Linked DNA regions of Homo sapiens: regions 1, 2, 3, 4 and 6 are each linked to region 5. Evidence: promoter capture Hi-C in 16 types of primary human blood cells and fetal thymus (Javierre and others, 2016). All regions are on one chromosome and are shown on one strand. The core of a region is centred on a gene start or on the middle of the fragment in contact, and the rest is flanking DNA. Distances in the headings are between cores, read along the strand shown. Region 1 overlaps GLB1L3 (galactosidase beta 1 like 3). Region 2 overlaps NCAPD3 (non-SMC condensin II complex subunit D3). Region 3 overlaps ACAD8 (acyl-CoA dehydrogenase family member 8). Region 4 overlaps VPS26B (VPS26 retromer complex component B). Region 5 holds the start of JAM3 (junctional adhesion molecule 3). Region 6 overlaps IGSF9B (immunoglobulin superfamily member 9B).

Evidence for each region. The method cuts DNA at HindIII sites, captures the fragments that hold promoters and counts their contacts. A CHiCAGO score of 5 or more calls a contact.
Region 1: a fragment that was not itself captured here is called in contact with the fragment with the promoter of JAM3 in region 5 in 3 of 17 cell types (fetal thymus, naive B cells and total CD8 T cells); the score reaches 5.4 in fetal thymus.
Region 2: a contact is called between a fragment that was not itself captured here and the fragment with the promoter of JAM3 in region 5, in 7 of 17 cell types (naive CD8 T cells, naive B cells, fetal thymus and 4 more). The highest score is 7.8, in naive CD8 T cells.
Region 3: a contact is called between a fragment that was not itself captured here and the fragment with the promoter of JAM3 in region 5, in 1 of 17 cell types (total B cells). The highest score is 6.4, in total B cells.
Region 4: a contact is called between a fragment that was not itself captured here and the fragment with the promoter of JAM3 in region 5, in 2 of 17 cell types (naive B cells and total B cells). The highest score is 6.2, in naive B cells.
Region 6: a fragment that was not itself captured here is called in contact with the fragment with the promoter of JAM3 in region 5 in 1 of 17 cell types (non-activated CD4 T cells); the score reaches 6.9 in non-activated CD4 T cells.

The regions. Positions count from the first base shown.
Region 1 is chr11:134,281,835-134,284,534 of GRCh38, forward strand. GLB1L3 (galactosidase beta 1 like 3) reads left to right here. Exons shown (of 20, transcript NM_001080407.3): 5 at 191-286; 6 at 1,903-2,011. Among named protein-coding and RNA genes, the nearest start is that of GLB1L3, 6.8 kb to the left of the region's middle. The HindIII fragment of the contact is 1,534 bases long and covers 667-2,200 here.
Region 2 is chr11:134,205,745-134,208,444 of GRCh38, forward strand. It overlaps NCAPD3 (non-SMC condensin II complex subunit D3), which reads right to left. Exons shown (of 35, transcript NM_015261.3): 8 at 855-988. Among named protein-coding and RNA genes, the nearest start is that of NCAPD3, 17 kb to the right of the region's middle. RefSeq lists a silencer at 1,781-1,840. The HindIII fragment of the contact is 8,331 bases long and covers 1-2,700 here.
Region 3 is chr11:134,258,001-134,260,700 of GRCh38, forward strand. ACAD8 (acyl-CoA dehydrogenase family member 8) reads left to right here. Exons shown (of 11, transcript NM_014384.3): 4 at 515-624; 5 at 1,008-1,084; 6 at 1,608-1,745. Among named protein-coding and RNA genes, the nearest start is that of ACAD8, 5.8 kb to the left of the region's middle. RefSeq lists a silencer at 2,581-2,630. The HindIII fragment of the contact is 4,357 bases long and covers 1-2,700 here.
Region 4 is chr11:134,232,343-134,235,042 of GRCh38, forward strand. VPS26B (VPS26 retromer complex component B) reads left to right here. Exons shown (of 6, transcript NM_052875.5): 2 at 2,555-2,700. Among named protein-coding and RNA genes, the nearest start is that of VPS26B, 9.0 kb to the left of the region's middle. The HindIII fragment of the contact is 6,943 bases long and covers 1-2,700 here.
Region 5 is chr11:134,067,778-134,070,477 of GRCh38, forward strand. It overlaps JAM3 (junctional adhesion molecule 3), which reads left to right and starts at 1,295. Exons shown (of 9, transcript NM_032801.5): 1 at 1,295-1,382. The coding sequence starts at 1,307. RefSeq lists a silencer at 1,100-1,289. The HindIII fragment of the contact is 4,850 bases long and covers 554-2,700 here.
Region 6 is chr11:133,902,612-133,905,311 of GRCh38, forward strand. IGSF9B (immunoglobulin superfamily member 9B) reads right to left here. Exons shown (of 20, transcript NM_001277285.4): 20 at 1-2,700. Among named protein-coding and RNA genes, the nearest start is that of MIR4697, 5.4 kb to the left of the region's middle. The HindIII fragment of the contact is 7,551 bases long and covers 1-2,700 here.

The DNA of each region.
Region 1 (2,700 bases), core at 184-2,683, 210 kb after region 5:
TGTGCAGAGGCTCTGAGGCTGGGAGCAGCTCAGGCCACCGACCTGGTGTGGGAGTCCCCACGCTTTGGGGGTGGGGCCGAGCCGTCCCTTCGCCCCACCAGGCAGCTCCTCCACCCTGTGATGCGTGTGGCCCCCACCCGGCCTCATCCTGGGCCGTCGTGGGAGGGGCTGACGATGTGGACCTCCCTAGGGCCTTCGTCCTGATGGCCGCAGAGATCGGGCTGTGGGTGATTCTGCGTCCAGGCCGCTACATCTGCAGTGAGATGGACCTCGGGGGCTTGCCCAGGTAAGCGGGGCTACAGTCCCAGAGTCGTGGTTCTAGTGAAGTATTTGCTTTAAAAAAAGTGAATTTCAAGCTAGTAACAAGGAAAGTAACCTTTATTCACGGAGCCGATGGGAGGTGTGCTGCCCCACGCCACGCACCGTGCCTGTGTTGTCTTGTGGGAAGCCTGCGGTACTGCGGTGGCGGGGGGCGGGGTGCAGTTGTCATCCCCGATTCACAGATGAGAAGCTCCAGACGTTGGTCCTGGGGCCTTGGGCATGCGGTCAAGAGGGTGTGCGCGGGGAGAGGTGGCCACAAGAGGCTCCCACTCTTCTTTCCCCATGCAGGAGGGGCTGTAGCCTCCTCTGTCCTTCTCAAAATGCCCTGGGAAGAAAGGGACCAGAAGCTTTAAGGCCTGCAAGGGAAGGTTCTGACGACTCGGCTTGTTTTGAAAACTTCTGATCTTTCGCTTATTTTGTGAGGGGAAGGCTTGCCTTTCCATGCAGTGAGACCACCCTCAGCTCCCCTCCCTTCCCTCTTGCTTTTCTTTGCCTTGTTCTCTCCTCTGTGATTCTGGCCCCCAGCCCAGACTGCTGAGGGTCAGGGTGAGACTCCAAGACTCCTCTCTGCCACCCCTGTGGTGGGCAGGGCTTCCTGGGGAATCTGGGGCTCTGCCTCCAGTGAGCACCTCTGCACCTCAGAGTCAGATGAGGCCTTTGCTTTTCTCCAGGATGAAGAGAGAGGTCTTTGCTTTTCTCCAGGGGCAGAGAAAGCCTGAGCTGAGGGGAGTGGAGTTTTCGGGAAGCAGTGACTCCCGGCATAGCTTGGCTGGAGGCCTGCCTGGCACTTCCCCAGTGACCTGGAGTGGGTGGAGTATCATTGGCACGTAGGCTCCTGCCCTGAGCCTGAAGCCTTAGCCCTTAGTGGAAATGTGACACTGTGCCTAAGGAAATTTTTTCTGTCCCCAAGAATTTTTTTTTTTTAAGACGGAGTCTTGCTCTCGTCACCCAGGCTGGAGTCCAGTGGCGCGATCTCGGCTTGCTGCAACCTCTGCCTCCCGGGTTCAAGCGATTCTCCTGCCTCAGCCTCCTGAGTAGCTGGGATTACAGGCGCCCGCCACCACACCCGGCTAATTTCTGTACTTTTAGTGGAGACGGGAGTTTCGCCACGTTGGCCAGGCTGGTCTCGAACTCCTGACCTCAGGTGATCTGCCCACCTCGGCCTCCCAAAGTGCTGGGATTATAGGCATGAATCACCGCGCCTGACCAAAAAATGTTTTCAATAAACTGAAAAAGAATAGAGAGTGTTCACCAAAAGGTAGAAGAAAAAGCTCTTTAAGACATGGCTGTAAGAGCCTTGACAGGCCAGCCCCTCAGTCAGACCAAATAGAGCTGAAGGCCTTTCCGAAGTTGTGAAGTGCCTTGGAGGTGGAGGCGGCCGTTTCCTTTCAAATCCCACAAGTCTGTGAGAATGGTCTGAAAGTCTCACGCGGCACAGATCTTTCCAGGACCCGAGTGCTCCGGGACCGGGGGTGTGAGGCAGCTGGGCAGATGTGCGGCGAGCCGGGGCAGCTCTGAGCCCACTCCTGCTTCCCTCTCCCAACCCGTCTCAGACCCTGAGCCCGCCCCTCTTGCCCCCAGCTGGCTCCTGCAAGACCCCCGGTTACTGTTGAGGACAACCAACAAGAGCTTCATTGAAGCAGTTGAGAAGTATTTTGACCACCTGATTCCCAGAGTGATTCCTCTCCAGGTAAAGCCAAATTGTCCCCTGCATCTTTCTTACGTGCCCTTTAGGGAAAGAGTTTGTTCTGGCTTGATCACTGAAGAGGCCACATGCAGTCTCCATGAACAATTGAGTTGACTTTCTTGTAACCTTGAGTTCTGGACCCTTGGCTTGAGGACAGAAGCACTGACCTGTCCTGTCCTTGTTGTCCGGGTAAGCTTCCCCAGGGTTGCTAGAAAGACTCATCACACAAGGCAGGGACTGGTTGTCCACATGAACTTACTATTCCTCAAGCTTGCCAATCTTCCCATTGCTTCTTTCCACTTTTGACATGGCAAAAAGACTCAGAAGGTACAAATGAATTTTTGGTCAGATAAAAATCTCACCTTCCACCCTGTCCCAAAGCCATTTAGTTGCCCTTTCAGGAGACAACCAATTTTACTAGATTTTGTGTCTCTTTTTAGAGATTTTATCAGCACAGAAGCAAATTATACACACGTGTCTATGCCTCTCAGGCATTTTTCTTTTGTTACTTGAAATACGTAGATTTGAAACCAGCCACTCTTTTTAGTGCCTGCACACTGTTCCCTAGTAGGGATGTATCATAATTCATTTAACAGGTATTCAGTCCAGGCTTGGTGACTCATGCCTATAATCCCAGCATTTTGGGAGGCCGAGGCAGGGGGGTCACCTGAGGTCAGGAGTTCGAGATCAGC
Region 2 (2,700 bases), core at 75-2,574, 140 kb after region 5:
GAAGACTATTGCGACTGGCATATGAGAAACTCTCATGGAAAAAACGAAACGATCGTGTTTTCACTTAAAACATTTTAGTTACTTAATGTTTTAAAAAGTCCTTAGTGAGAGACATTTGCTCAGTCACAAGATGACGTCATACACACCCCATGTCTCCAACTACCCTGCACACTGTGCACACCCAAGGCATGCACACACTTGCACATGCACACCATGTCTCGGCACCACCTCCACACTGCACGCCAAAAATCAGTGAAGGAGGGAAGGAAAAGCCAACAACGCAGCAAACATGTCCTTGCCAGTGAAACTAAGGCATGAGAGTTTTTAAGTGAAGCTGAGTGACCCATGAGAGGAAAAGTAGTCTAACACTTATTGCTACGGAGGTAAAAAGCAACTCAATCCTTTCCTTCAAGTCATTTCTACAGAGGGAAAGGAATAGAAAAGTGCAAAGAAACAAGAAGAAAGTGGCAAAGAACAAAAGCAAAGAGCTGCAAAGTAGAGAGCAACAGAAAAGGGAAAGAGGTGAACTGGCTGCAATGAAGCAGACAAGGGAAAGGAGGAGAGGCCACCATCCTCTCTCTGAGGCTGACCCACATATTGAGCGCAAACAAGCTGGAGGCTGGCGCTGGCCCGTGTTCTGCAGATTCCTATCTCTTTAACAGTGCCCCAGCTGGGAGCCTACCAACAGAGACCCAGACACATAAAGCACATTAGCTACGAAGTGCTTGGTTTTCACCCCCAAAACCACCATCAGGCCAGAAATTTTAAGTCTACATGTATCAGAAATCTTAGTGCAGGGCCCAGAGTACTGAGGGAGACTGACAGGGTGAAAATTCACGATTTGTGTGCTTCACCTGATAAACTGGACCGCCTGGTTTCTACAGTTGATGACTTGGGAGGTAACAGCAAGGGGGGCACGATGGGATCCTTCACCAACTTCTAACATTAATATTACACTGAGCATTTGATGGAAAACACAACTGATGACCTAGAAGAGAAAAGAAAATTCAATTTAAGATCGGATGGAGAACACAAGGGTCTCAGACATAGTGATGCAGACTGTAGTAAACCATTTCAAGCCATCTGAAGGTAGGTCAGGCTGGCATAATTGCTGGCTGAACACTAGGGATATATTTCTTAAACAATGAGCAGGGATACAATAAATGCACAATGTAAACAGTGTGAAAGAATGGCTGACAGATGATATGTCTGATAAAAACAATACCTAGTTTCTCTCCCCACCCTTTGCATATCATAACCCAGAATTTAGGACAAATAGGGAATTAACTGTCATTTACATAGGGCAAAGAATGCTACTAATGTTCCCTTATTCAAAAGGGGAAAGAACGATACTTTACACCTGCTTTTTGCCTCCAGTTTACAAAGCACTTTCCAACATATTATCTCATATAACATAGTCACTAATTAATTTATTCATCCAATAAATAAAACATTTACTGAAAACCAAGTAAGTGGTAGGTATTGCATTAAGCACTTTCATCTACATAGCTAGATTTTACTATATATATATAAAATATACATTTAATTTTAAACCTTACAACAATTCCATAATGTAAGCAGGACATGTATAATTTCCACTTCACAGATAATTAAAAAAAGCTCCAAAGGTGAGCTGTCCAAGATCAAATAATTAAAAATAAGGCTAAAAACCAACATTGCCTGACATCAAGTCAGTACTTTCACAATTAAAAAAAAATACCGACTGGGCGCAGTGGCTCACGCCTGTAATTCCAGCACTTTGGGAAACCAAGGAGGGTGGATCACGAGGTCAAGAGATCAAGACCATCCTGGCCAACATGGTGAAACCCCATCTCTAAAAATACAAAAATTAGCTGGGCATGGTGGCGCGCACCTGTAGTCCCAGCCACTAGGGGGTGCTGAGGCAGGAGAATCACTTGAACCTGGGAGGCTGAGGTTGCAGTGAGCCGAGATCATGCCACTGCACTCCAGCCTGGTGTCAGAGCGAGACTGCGTCTCAAAAAAAAAAAAAAAAAAAAAAAAACCATCTTTAGAGACACAGTAGACCTAAAGGGATGAATTTTCCCACCTATGTTATTGTTTAAAATATTTAAAAGGGCATGCGAATTAAAAACATTACTGTAAATGTTATCACATTCATATTTCAAGCACACAGAAGTGATAAAGATACTAAACTTATAAAATACCGAATGTTTCTAAACAACAGGCATTGTGCTCGGTAGGCGGCCTGCTCAACTTCATTTAATCCTGTGACAAATCGATAAAGAAGGTAGACTTTGGTCCTTTTTGTCCATAAGTGAAATCTAACGCTTTAGCCAGGGTGAATGGCTCATTCAAGGACCCACAGCTAGTAAGTGGTGAAGTCAGAAAGCAAACACAGATGTGCGGAACCCCCCAAGCATCCCCAAAAATATCTTCGTAACCAGGTTACTGCCTCTGCAAGGTAACGCGTCGCAGATACCAAAAGCCACATGACCTTGGTCCAACACATTTTTTTGCAAAATCTTATTGTTTCATTTAAGACATCTAAGTTTAGTAACAGCATCATGCGCAACTAACTCTAACTGCAAAGTTTCTAGTAGTAGTGGCGTTCAGGTAACCTGGAGGCAAAACCCAGGTATCCATGCTGACCACGGGTGACAACCTACAAAATTTCCATAGCATATCAACACAAATAATACAACTACCAATAGAAATACT
Region 3 (2,700 bases), core at 197-2,696, 190 kb after region 5:
CACCACACCTGGCTAATTTTTTTTCATATTTAGTAGAGATGGGGTTTCACCATGTTAGTCAGGCTGGTCTCAAACTCCTGACCTTGTGTTCTGCCTGCCTCGGCCTCCCATAGTGCTGGGATTACAGATGTGAGCCACCGCACCCGGCCCCTCTCACCCTTTTCCTCAATCCAAAGATGGAACTGCCAGTGATTTGAGGAAGTAATAGAAACTACTAATAGAAAGCACATATAACTCTGATTTTTAGAGGCTCGTGTAACCTAACTAGAAGTAGTACAAACGTGCTGGTGAGAAGTACCTCAGCCTGGTTATCTCTGGGTAGTCCTTATTCCAGGAATATGTTTTAATCCACCGTTTGCCTTTAAAGAGTCTTCCCAATTGTGACTCTCCCCTTCCCACTCTTCTGCTTTACTCCACTGCCCTGCCCTTTGTTCTCTTTCCCCTTCTCCCCCATTTTTTTTTCTTTTCCATCTTTATTTCTGTCATTGTCTTTTCTTCTTGGTGTACCTATCAGCATGTGTGCCTGGATGATTGATAGCTTCGGAAATGAGGAACAGAGGCACAAATTTTGCCCACCGCTCTGTACCATGGAGAAGTTTGCTTCCTACTGCCTCACTGAACCAGGTGAATTTGCCACACTGCACTGAGATATAGCAGGGAGAGATGCTTCCTGCTCAGATGGCATTACCGAGCACTCCTTCCAGCCTCTTGACATGTCGAGCCACTGTTTATCTAGCTGTTTGGTTGAGGAGTAATAGAGTCCTGTGACCTGATGTCACAAGGACCAAGAAGCCTATCTGGTGTGTTGGGAGGTAGGCAGTGGCCTGACTGGTATGAGCAGTTTCCACCAAGTACAGAGAGTTCCTTTGGCCACTTGGGTTTTGCAGTGACACACTCTGAGCAGGGTCTGTTTAGAGAAGATTTCCTAGAAGATAGAATTGTGCTGGGCTCCCTCGACCTCACTGACTTTCTCACCTTCTCTCTGCTGCCTTTTGATCCCTCCTCAGGAAGTGGGAGTGATGCTGCCTCTCTTCTGACCTCCGCTAAGAAACAGGGAGATCATTACATCCTCAATGGCTCCAAGGTACTAGCGTGCGTCCTCCCAGAGCACTTTGGAGATTGTTCCCAGCTTCCTCCTGACATCCTCTGGTTCCTTCACATCCGCGGGTTAATACTCCCATAGGATTTTTATGTGTTGGGAAGAGAACCTCTGACCCATTTCTCTTTCTTTATTCTCACTGTTTGTATCTCTCCTAATCTGATTCCAGATCATTTCGTTGACTTTTGTCTATCCTTTTTATACTCTCTTGGACTGCCTCTCTGATCTGCAGTCACTGCAGCGACCTTTTACCTCACCTCAGTCTCTGTGCCATTGGACCTTATTGTCAGTCTCTGTGCCATTGGACCTTATTGTCAGTCTCTGTGCCATTGGACCTTATTGTCAGTCTCTGTGCCATTGGACCTTATTGTCAGTCTCTGTGCCATTGGACCTTATTGTCAGTCTCTGTGCCATTGGACCTTATTGTCAGGAGGACCCAGTGGTGTTCCCAGACGCTGTGAGAACTCAAGCATTCCCTGGTCCTTTTGCACCCCTTTTACCCCCACAGGCCTTCATCAGTGGTGCTGGTGAGTCAGACATCTATGTGGTCATGTGCCGAACAGGAGGACCAGGCCCCAAGGGCATCTCATGCATAGTTGTTGAGAAGGGGACCCCTGGCCTCAGCTTTGGCAAGAAGGAGAAAAAGGTGAGTGGCTGTTGGACAGGAAACAATTCAGGTTATGAGACTCTGCCACCTGCCAGCCCAACTCCTGCTCTATTTCAGAAAACAGGTTTGCATACTTGCTAACCTACCTTTGAAGCAGTTGCTTCTATTAGGATTTTCAACAGGAGCATATGAAATACAACAGGGCATTATTAAACACTAGGCCTCTGGGGAAAGTGACAATGTTTGCCAGTAAATTCTTCAAGCCACCTGTGAGTGTTCTGACCTCTCCTGCCTCTGCTTTTGGCCTGTGTTCCTTATCCAGCTGCTTACGTTGGTGCACTTTGTTGCTCCAGGAAGAGACGCTTAGAGAAGACCTGGTGTTGGCCACAAGTCTCAGTAATGGAAGGCGTGTGGTCCCTTTTGCTTCTTTGATTAAAAATAAAGTAAAACTCATTGGAGATGATTGTGGGTATTTCAGCAACCCAAGAAGGACACTTAGGTACTGTAAGTAATTTGAAAAGTAAGATACTTCTAGGATTAAGAGCCGCCATGGCCAGGGCATGAACAGGAGACTTGTGATCATGTAACCGTAATTGGTAATAAGGGCTCAAGACCCATTCAGATTTTTTAGACCAGATGCTCAAAGCAGTCATCTCTCTCTAGTTTGTACTGTTATGGGGGGACTTTGTGAGAGAAGGCAGGTAATGAAATGACCCCTAAGTGTACCTCTTTCTCACAGCTCCTCGGGTTTCTGTATTTTCCTACAGGATCCTTCCTGATCCTCTGTAACTGTAAGGCATTATGCATTTTAGCATCCCCTTCTCTTTGGTAACACAGCAACCATTTCCTAGGCTTCTACTGTGTGTGAAGCCCATGCTAACTCCTGGGCAGGAAGACCTTCAGTAAAAGGCTTAGAAATGGAGTTTATCCTATCAACAAAAGAGAGCAAGGAAATGATGTAAAGGCAGTCTATTTTCAGAGCCAGAGAGGAACT
Region 4 (2,700 bases), core at 40-2,539, 160 kb after region 5:
GCATCGCTGTGTCTGCCCCTTTGCCCCACAGTGTTTGCAGAAGTATTGCAGATGGCTTATAAAGGATAGATTAAAAAGGCCAGGCCAGCCCTGCTGTGACTGCACACTGGCCACTCTTCCATGACATTTGATGTCAGAGCTGATATTAACATGTGTGCAGGAGGAAAGGCACTAGGGAGAACGTGATGCTATGCAGGGAATGACTTCTCCTGCTCCAGGTGCCCTGCTGGGGCAGGCCGAACCTTCTGCACTGTTGCTAGGCTCCACAATGCTGGCAGCCTGAGCGCTCTCTGTGCCTTCTCTGTTTTGTTTATTCCTGATGTTGCCTTTGGGCTGTGTGATCGCATTTCTGTATTTTTCCATCCTTTTCTTCTCCTCTTCCTCTTGACTCTGGACCATTGATTCTGGACACTGGGGCCTTGCTCTGCCTGCTTCTGTCCCCTGAAACTATGGCCAGAATCTAGTGCTTAGAAACTGAGGTACCAGGTTCCCAAGTCAAGGTTTCGGCTTCCACACGAAAGCCAACACCATCGACCAGGACTCATGCAACAAGAGTAAGCCGAGGAGTCCCTGTCCCCGGGGCTGGCCGCGGCTCCGCTTCTGCCTGTCATATACTTCTGACTTTTATTGGGGGGGCACAATTACTGGATTGCTCACTTTCCACCCATAATTTGGAGCTGCCACCTCCCACTCTGAGGCTTTGTGGATTATCACTCACTAACCAGAATGCTGCCTACTATTGAAACCACTGAGTGTTTGGAAAGGAAGGTCATTGTTTGTAATAAAAGATTGTGGCTGATTGTAGTTACACGGGAAATCAGCCACAAGCCACAGCCACACAATACACTGTGAATTCATACAGAAGTGGCATCACTAGTGTGGGATCCCAGAGACTCCAGTCTGTGGACTCGCCTCTTCCTCCCCAAGCAGCAAACAACAGAGGCAATGAGTGTGCTCCGCCTGCTCTGTGTTCCCAATTCATCTGCCCCGCTGCAAGTTGCAGTCTAGCACGGGACTTGAACACAGAATCCTTGAGGGGTGGTGGCTTGAACTGTAATGTGGCCATGCATAGCCACAGTCAGTATTAAGAGCTTACCTCGGCCGGGCACGGTGGCTCGCGCCTGTAATCCCAGCACTTTGGGAGGCCAAGGCGGTTAGATCACGAGGTCAGGAGATCGAGACCATCCTGGCTAACATGGTGAAACCCCATCTCTACTAAAAATACAAAAACAATTAGCTGGGCGTGGTGGCAGATGCCTGTAGTCTCAGCTTCTTGGGAGGCTGAGGCAGAAGAATTGCTTGAACCCAGGAGGCGGAGGTTGCAGTGAGTCGAGATCACACTACTGCACTCCAGCCTGGGCGACAGAGCGAGACTCTGTCTCAAAAAACAAACAAAAAAAGCTCACTTGTGCAGGGCCAGGTTCTAGGAAGCACCAGGGAGCTGGGGATGTGGGCCTTATCTTTAAAGGGCCTGCAGTCCACAGTGGGAGCGGGGGAGACCAGGTATGTAGCAAAACTTATACTTAAATAGAATATAAGCAAACATAAAATAATATAGGACAAATGGGTGGCATGAACTTATCATCAAAAAATACCAGAACTATTTCCTGAAGAGGATAAATTTAGAGCAATGCTTCTTAAAGCGTGGAAGTGTGGTAGCAGCCGTCCTGGGGAGCTTATCAGAAGGGCCAGTTCTCAGGCCCCATCCCAGACTCCTGAATCAGAAACACTAGGGTGGAGTCCAGCCATCTGTGTGTTAACCAGCTCTCTCAGTGACTCTGGTGCACACTAAAGTTCGACACCCCCTGATTTCAGTGGAGGGAATAACATGAAAATGTCCATGTTCGATTGGCCACATGCCTTCCTTTTGGAGTAATAACAGCAGCTACTAACGATGTTTTTGAGTATTTGCTGTGTACTAGATACTGTTCTAAGTCTTTTACCTACATCACCCCTGCTACTTCACACAGAGCCTTGTGAAGTAGGTTGTGTCATGACCTGCATTATACCAGCTGATAGAAATAGACGCAGTCTAGAAGGAGACCTGCTCTAGTCTCAGCTCTGCAGCCAGCTCTGCGACTCCAGGCCAGTCAGTTAAGCATGCTGTGCCTGGGTTTCCATCGTCTTTTAAACGGGGTGATAAGACCTGTCTTAGCTGTGTCAGAAGATTATTATTATAAGGATGATATGATTAAATAGCTATATCCTTTCGGAAGTTGGAAGTGTTAAATGCTGTTTAAAGAAGTGTGGCATTTCTTATATTGGCTCCCATGACTTACCCTTATTAAAAGATGGTGTCCGAGTGTCTTGGAGCAGGATTATTTTGGGTTCCTTTTCTGCCACGGGATTTCACTATATAAGACAGAAAAGCCTTTGGAGAAGAAGGAGGGAGTGAAAGAGCAGAGGTCAAGAAAACAAGGCTAGAAGGGGTCTGTTCTGCAGGGAGGTCCTTCCAGAAAGCAGTCCCTCCAGCCTACAGCCTCCAGCCCCCTACTCGGCCCGGTGTAGCTCAGGGTCTGATAAAGGAGGGCGTCGCATCGCTGTCTCTCACCAGAACTCTACTACGATCGCGGGAACCACCATGAGTTTGTGTCCCTGGTGAAGGACCTGGCCCGGCCTGGAGAGATCACCCAGTCGCAGGCCTTCGACTTTGAGTTTACCCACGTGGAGAAGCCGTATGAGTCCTACACAGGGCAGAAT
Region 5 (2,700 bases), core at 45-2,544:
AAGACGAATTTTCTTCTTTTTAATTTCTCGATTTTGTGCTTGATAAAGGGAAAGAGGCCACCATTATAAAACAACTTTTACACACTTTTACTTGTGATTTAGTGCATGGTGACCTGGAACATAAAGAAGATTTATGAAAGGAAAGACAGAATCATAGTAGGTAATTGAGTTATTTTTTAATTTTTATTCTGTCTTTATAAGATTTTTGAGAAGGTAATCAATTAACATAAAGATCTGAGCAGTTATAAAGATTTACAAAGAAGATTATACAGTGATGGAAACTGAAGCATATTCTTGGCAACAATCTCAATCTATTTCACGTTTCCCGGCTTTTACATATATAAATTTGGTATACATAATATGTAAATATACTTCTATTTTGCATGAAAACTAAAAATACTAAAAAAGTAGCATGAGTATATGAAAAAGTTAAACATTAAAAATATTAGTTGGAAACTGGCTTATTTTACTAACAATTATATTCAGAATTCTGTTGCTAGACTGCTGTTTCTGGGAACATTGGAGGTGTACTTTCTATACTTGCTAAAATACAAGCTTTTCAAGTATTTTCCATAGTATTAAGTGAGACTTTAAATACTCTTGCTTTTTTAGATCTAATTTCTGCTTTAATTTATCCTTCTCTTCATTTTTCCTGTTTGTCCTCATCTTACCTGTTCTTCCCTGGTTTTACTATCTCCCAGTATTCAGAAATCAGAGCAAATAATTAGTCTGCTTTTCTGCAGAATAAACTATTGGGTATGCCATCATGCTTTTGATCTACCACATAAACAAATTATTTTAGCAAGACATCACTTTTATATGCTGTATAATGTATGTATTGCTTATGTTTTAAGCAGATTTCAGCTCTTTTCCTTCCATCAATTTGGAATTGGGGGCCCAAAAGATGTGAAGGCGATAATGCTTCCAAGATAACTGGGCTGCATCCTTATTTGTAAAATAAGAAATACTTTATTTCCCAAATTTTAAAGGAGTGTTCCTTCTCCGACCTGTTGTGATGGATTTATTCTATAGCTATGGAAATATACCCTGCTTCACTCTTGTACATACTTCTTTACTCTCCTCCCGCCAAGTTCATTGAAAGAGAACCCATGTGCCGGTCCAGAGCATCGCTGCATCCGTAAGCAGCTAGACCTCAGCTTCCTCTGTCACCATGGTGCCGGCTCGGCTGGGCCCGGCGGTCGCCATGGTAACTGGGGCGGGTCGCAGGGTCCTGGCAGGCTGGGCGCATGCGCGCGGGGACTACAAGCCGCGCCGCGCTGCCGCTGGCCCCTCAGCAACCCTCGACATGGCGCTGAGGCGGCCACCGCGACTCCGGCTCTGCGCTCGGCTGCCTGACTTCTTCCTGCTGCTGCTTTTCAGGGGTGAGTTTGCGCGTTTCCGCTGTTGGGAGACTAGGGTCTGGGGGCGACGGAAGCAGAGCGGGCCGAAGCTGCTGGAGCCGGTCCGGGCGAGGATAGCGGTCCTGGCTCCGAGGGCTCCCGGGGTCCCGGGCCGGAGGGGCGGCGCGCGCCCGCGTCCCCGCAGCCAGGGCTGGGACTCGGGCCTGGCTAGGGCGGGGGCCCTGGGACGCCCGGCAGTTGGACCGGGGCGGGGAGCTAATTTGGGATGGGGGGCCCGTCCCAGGCAGTGAGTCGGTCCCGGACAGCCGTCGGACCCCGGGGGCGGGCTCTTCTCGGGCGGGGTCCTGTGCTGGGCGGTGGGCTCATCCCCCGGGTGGGCTCCTCCCAGGCGGGGTCCTGTGCTGGGCGGTGGGCTCATCCCCCGGGTGGGCTCCTCCCAGGCGGGGTCCTGTGCTGGGCGGTGGGCTCGTCCCCGGGGTGGACCCCTCCCGGGCGGTGGGCACGGCCCTCTGGAGGGAGCGCGGCAGCTGCGGCGTGGGCGCTGGAACTTGCTGGAAGACCCTGCGCAGCAGTGCTGTGCTCTCCAGAAGGGACGGTGAGCGGGGGACGTAGCTGAGGACCGGCGAGGCAGAGCTCCGAGGCCTGGCGGGCTGCTTGGTCACAGCCCTCTGGGGATCTGCAGTTCATTTGACTCGACACAAAGGAACTGCTTTTCTTTTACAGAAATAAAATGGATATCAATCCAGTACCTTTTTTGTCTCTGGCCTGGCCGAGGAGACCACGCAGACTCTTATCCGGAAATAGCATTCGGGGCATTTGATCAAGACACACTAATAAACTTGATAGTTTTGTGCATTTTCTTTCCCTCTGTTTGGAATTCTCATTAGATCCACATTTTCCTGGACAGTTGTACAGAGGACTAAAATAGCTTTCCTTTAGTGAGCTTGTACTGTCTACTAGGCACTTTGGAGCCATTATCTCGTTTACTCCTTTCAGCAGCTCTGTGAGATAGGTTTCATTAATCCATTTTCAGAGTCAAGTCTAGTCTGCTTTCCAAGGCTGCATTCTAAGTAGTGAAGCCTCAACTTCATATTTACCTAAAGCAGGACACCACACTCTTCCCCTGGCAGCCATCCGCAGGTAACCAGACCAGGACCTTTTTCGGTTCTTAGATTATTTTATTGTTTGAATTGCCACTGTCATCCCATGATGTTTTCCAGAATATACAAATTAAAACACGGAGGGACTGTTTAGGAGTGAAGGTGGACAGATTTTGGAAAACAAAGCATTCCTGTGTTTGGTGCTTTATGCTAATGGGATGCTCGTGATGGGCTGTGAC
Region 6 (2,700 bases), core at 8-2,507, 170 kb before region 5:
AAGAAACACTGGACTAGACAGCTGGCTGGGGGTTAGAGACCAGGGGGACAACCTGGTGCCTGCAGAAGGACACATGAGACAATCCCTTCTCCAGCCCTGCCAGGACACCGTCGGCCATGGCACACCTCTCGTTGTTCATGGGAGGCCATATAAAACCTCATTGATAGAGTGGCTGACAACTACCCTTTCAAGAACTGCAAGATGACCGTGAGGAGGCTCATCCCTCCACCAGAAATACAGCTTCATAGACCACTATGCCAAAAGGAGGCCAAAGCCCTGGGTTCTACCACCAGCGTGAGGAGGGCTGGGCACTCGCCCCTCCCATGGCTTATATGAAAACCCCACACGTGCATGCCCGCAGCATTTCTAAGGCCGAAAATGCAAGTCACCTCCCCAGCCCAACCCCCTGCCCTCCGAGATTCCCTGCCCCTCCCACCACCTCCCCATCGTAAACCACGCACATGTTCACGATCCCTGGAGCCATACAGAAGTGGGGAAAGGAAAAGGGAAGGGAAGCTAACTGGTGTGTATACGGGGTGGCGAGGGAGAACCTGCCCTAGTTCGCAAAATAAATCCAGGAAATCCAGTGCCACAGAGAGGTAGGATTGGTGGAGCACACTTCTTCAAGACCCGAAAGAAAGGCAGGCCCAGGCAGCCATTCACGTCCCCATCTAGTGTGATGGGAATGGTGACAACCAAGGACCAGTGACAGGAGCTGAGCATTTGAGCCACGGGGTTAAAACTGTCCAATCTAGCTCTCCCAGCCAGGGCTCCAAAGCCGGTAGCTTTTCACCAGCTCTCGTCCGAAACCCTAACTACTACTACTGTCTTCTACACCGCAGAAGACAACACCCATGTGATTTTAATGACTGGCCACTGTTCCACCAGAGTATATGGCAACCAAGATACCCAGACTCTTCCTTCTCTAAGATGTGAGCAGCCATTAATGACCCCTGTATGGATGCTTCATTTATCCTTATCCTACATGGGATCCCTCAGGGGATGGTGGTGTCTTTGGACCAAATTCAATCTACTGAGTGTTTTTCTAACAGCTTAAAATGAGGTTGAAAAAAACTTCCACCTTCTCGGCAACCCAACACACAGAACATCTGGTGGGGTTATTATACTTGCTCCTGAAAGAAGGTTTTGAGAGTACAGACAGGAACCCAGAAATAAGGCTCTGAACCAGTGTGGATTCACTCGCAGTCAGAGGGAAGGGTGGTGATTGGTACCCCTAGCCAAACAGCAAGCTGGTAAGAGTGCGAAAGTCCAATCTGGGCTTTGATCCTTGGTTTACTGACTTCTTCTAAAGAAGAGATTTTTCATTCTGCCTCTTAATCTAAAAAGAAGCAGAGCTGGAGACATTAAAGAGAGAAGAATGGCTGGTCAAGCCAAGAGTTTCAGGTGAAACTCTTTTGCCCTCCCACCTCCACCACAGACTAGTGACTTTAGCCTATCAAAAGAAGAGAAAGTAAAGAGAAGGCCTCACGAAGCCACTGTGCAACTTCATGGCCGGAAGGAAGCCTCTCTACCTCAAGAGGAAAGGGGGATGAAGGCACGTCAGGCTCCAGCTCCCCCTCTCTATCACCATCACCATCACCAAGGCCCATGAACATTTTCAGATTGTGGACGGAGAGGCAACCCACCGCTGCAGCTTAGGAAAATGAGAATGGCACTTCCTTCTCCACTGATGAAGAGCTGGTGATAGGATGGGCATCTCAAGACAAGTTTCTCAGCTTTGGGCCTGAGGAGCCCCCAAAACAAATGAAGTTGAAATACAATATAAAGAAGATGTCCATGTTTGGTTTGGGCACTTAGTGTTAGAGGCTAATTCTAGAAGAAGCAAGGAAGATCTAGCTAAGAAGCAAGACCTCTCCCAAGATCCAGTCTGCGTTCACATGCAGGACCCCACCCCACAATCCGTCCCTGATGCCCAGATCCCCCTCCCACATGCCCTGCATGGCTACCACTCCCCAGCCAGATGCCCACCAGGCAATCATTCTTCGTCATCTTGGGATGATCCCCCAGTGTGTACCCTGCACCCTTACAAGTAACTAAGTTATCACATGACTCAAAGAGATGCTGAGGCTTGGTGTCCCCTGGGGTGGTCTCACCATCCTAACCCATGCCTGACCTCACCCTCTGTGCCCCTTCCAGCCTCACCAACACCTGGCAAAGCACACAGGCCTCCCCTCCACCCTCCAGTTCTCCAACTCCCCCTCCTGAAACACCAGTGCCCCATCCATTACCCTAGTCAATCTAGAGCTGGCCAATAAGGCACCTCTTTGGCCCTCTCCCTAAAGCAACACACACAGCCACATGGGGCTCTACACACTGCCTACTAGATCCACTTTATATGAAGAAGATACCCAGGCAGGGCTGGGTTAGAAGCCCCGGTGGGAATGTGCACAGCTCCTAGAGTACCACAGAGGCTGGACTCAACAGAGCCTTCCATGACCCGCTCAGCTCCACCCTCTGCCCCTTCCTGCAGCTCCCCAGCCATCCCTGCAGTGCCCCCAAAGCTCCTTTACATGCAAGCAAAGCAAGCCCAAGATTAACCATTAGCTTTTCTTTTCCTAGGTTTCTCTACAGATTAATAAAATGTACTTTATGTACAATTCTTCCCCCACCCCACCCCCAAGCCTGGAAAAGGCTTTTGCTAACAAAATAGGAAGAAACAGATTCCAGCCACGCAGTCTT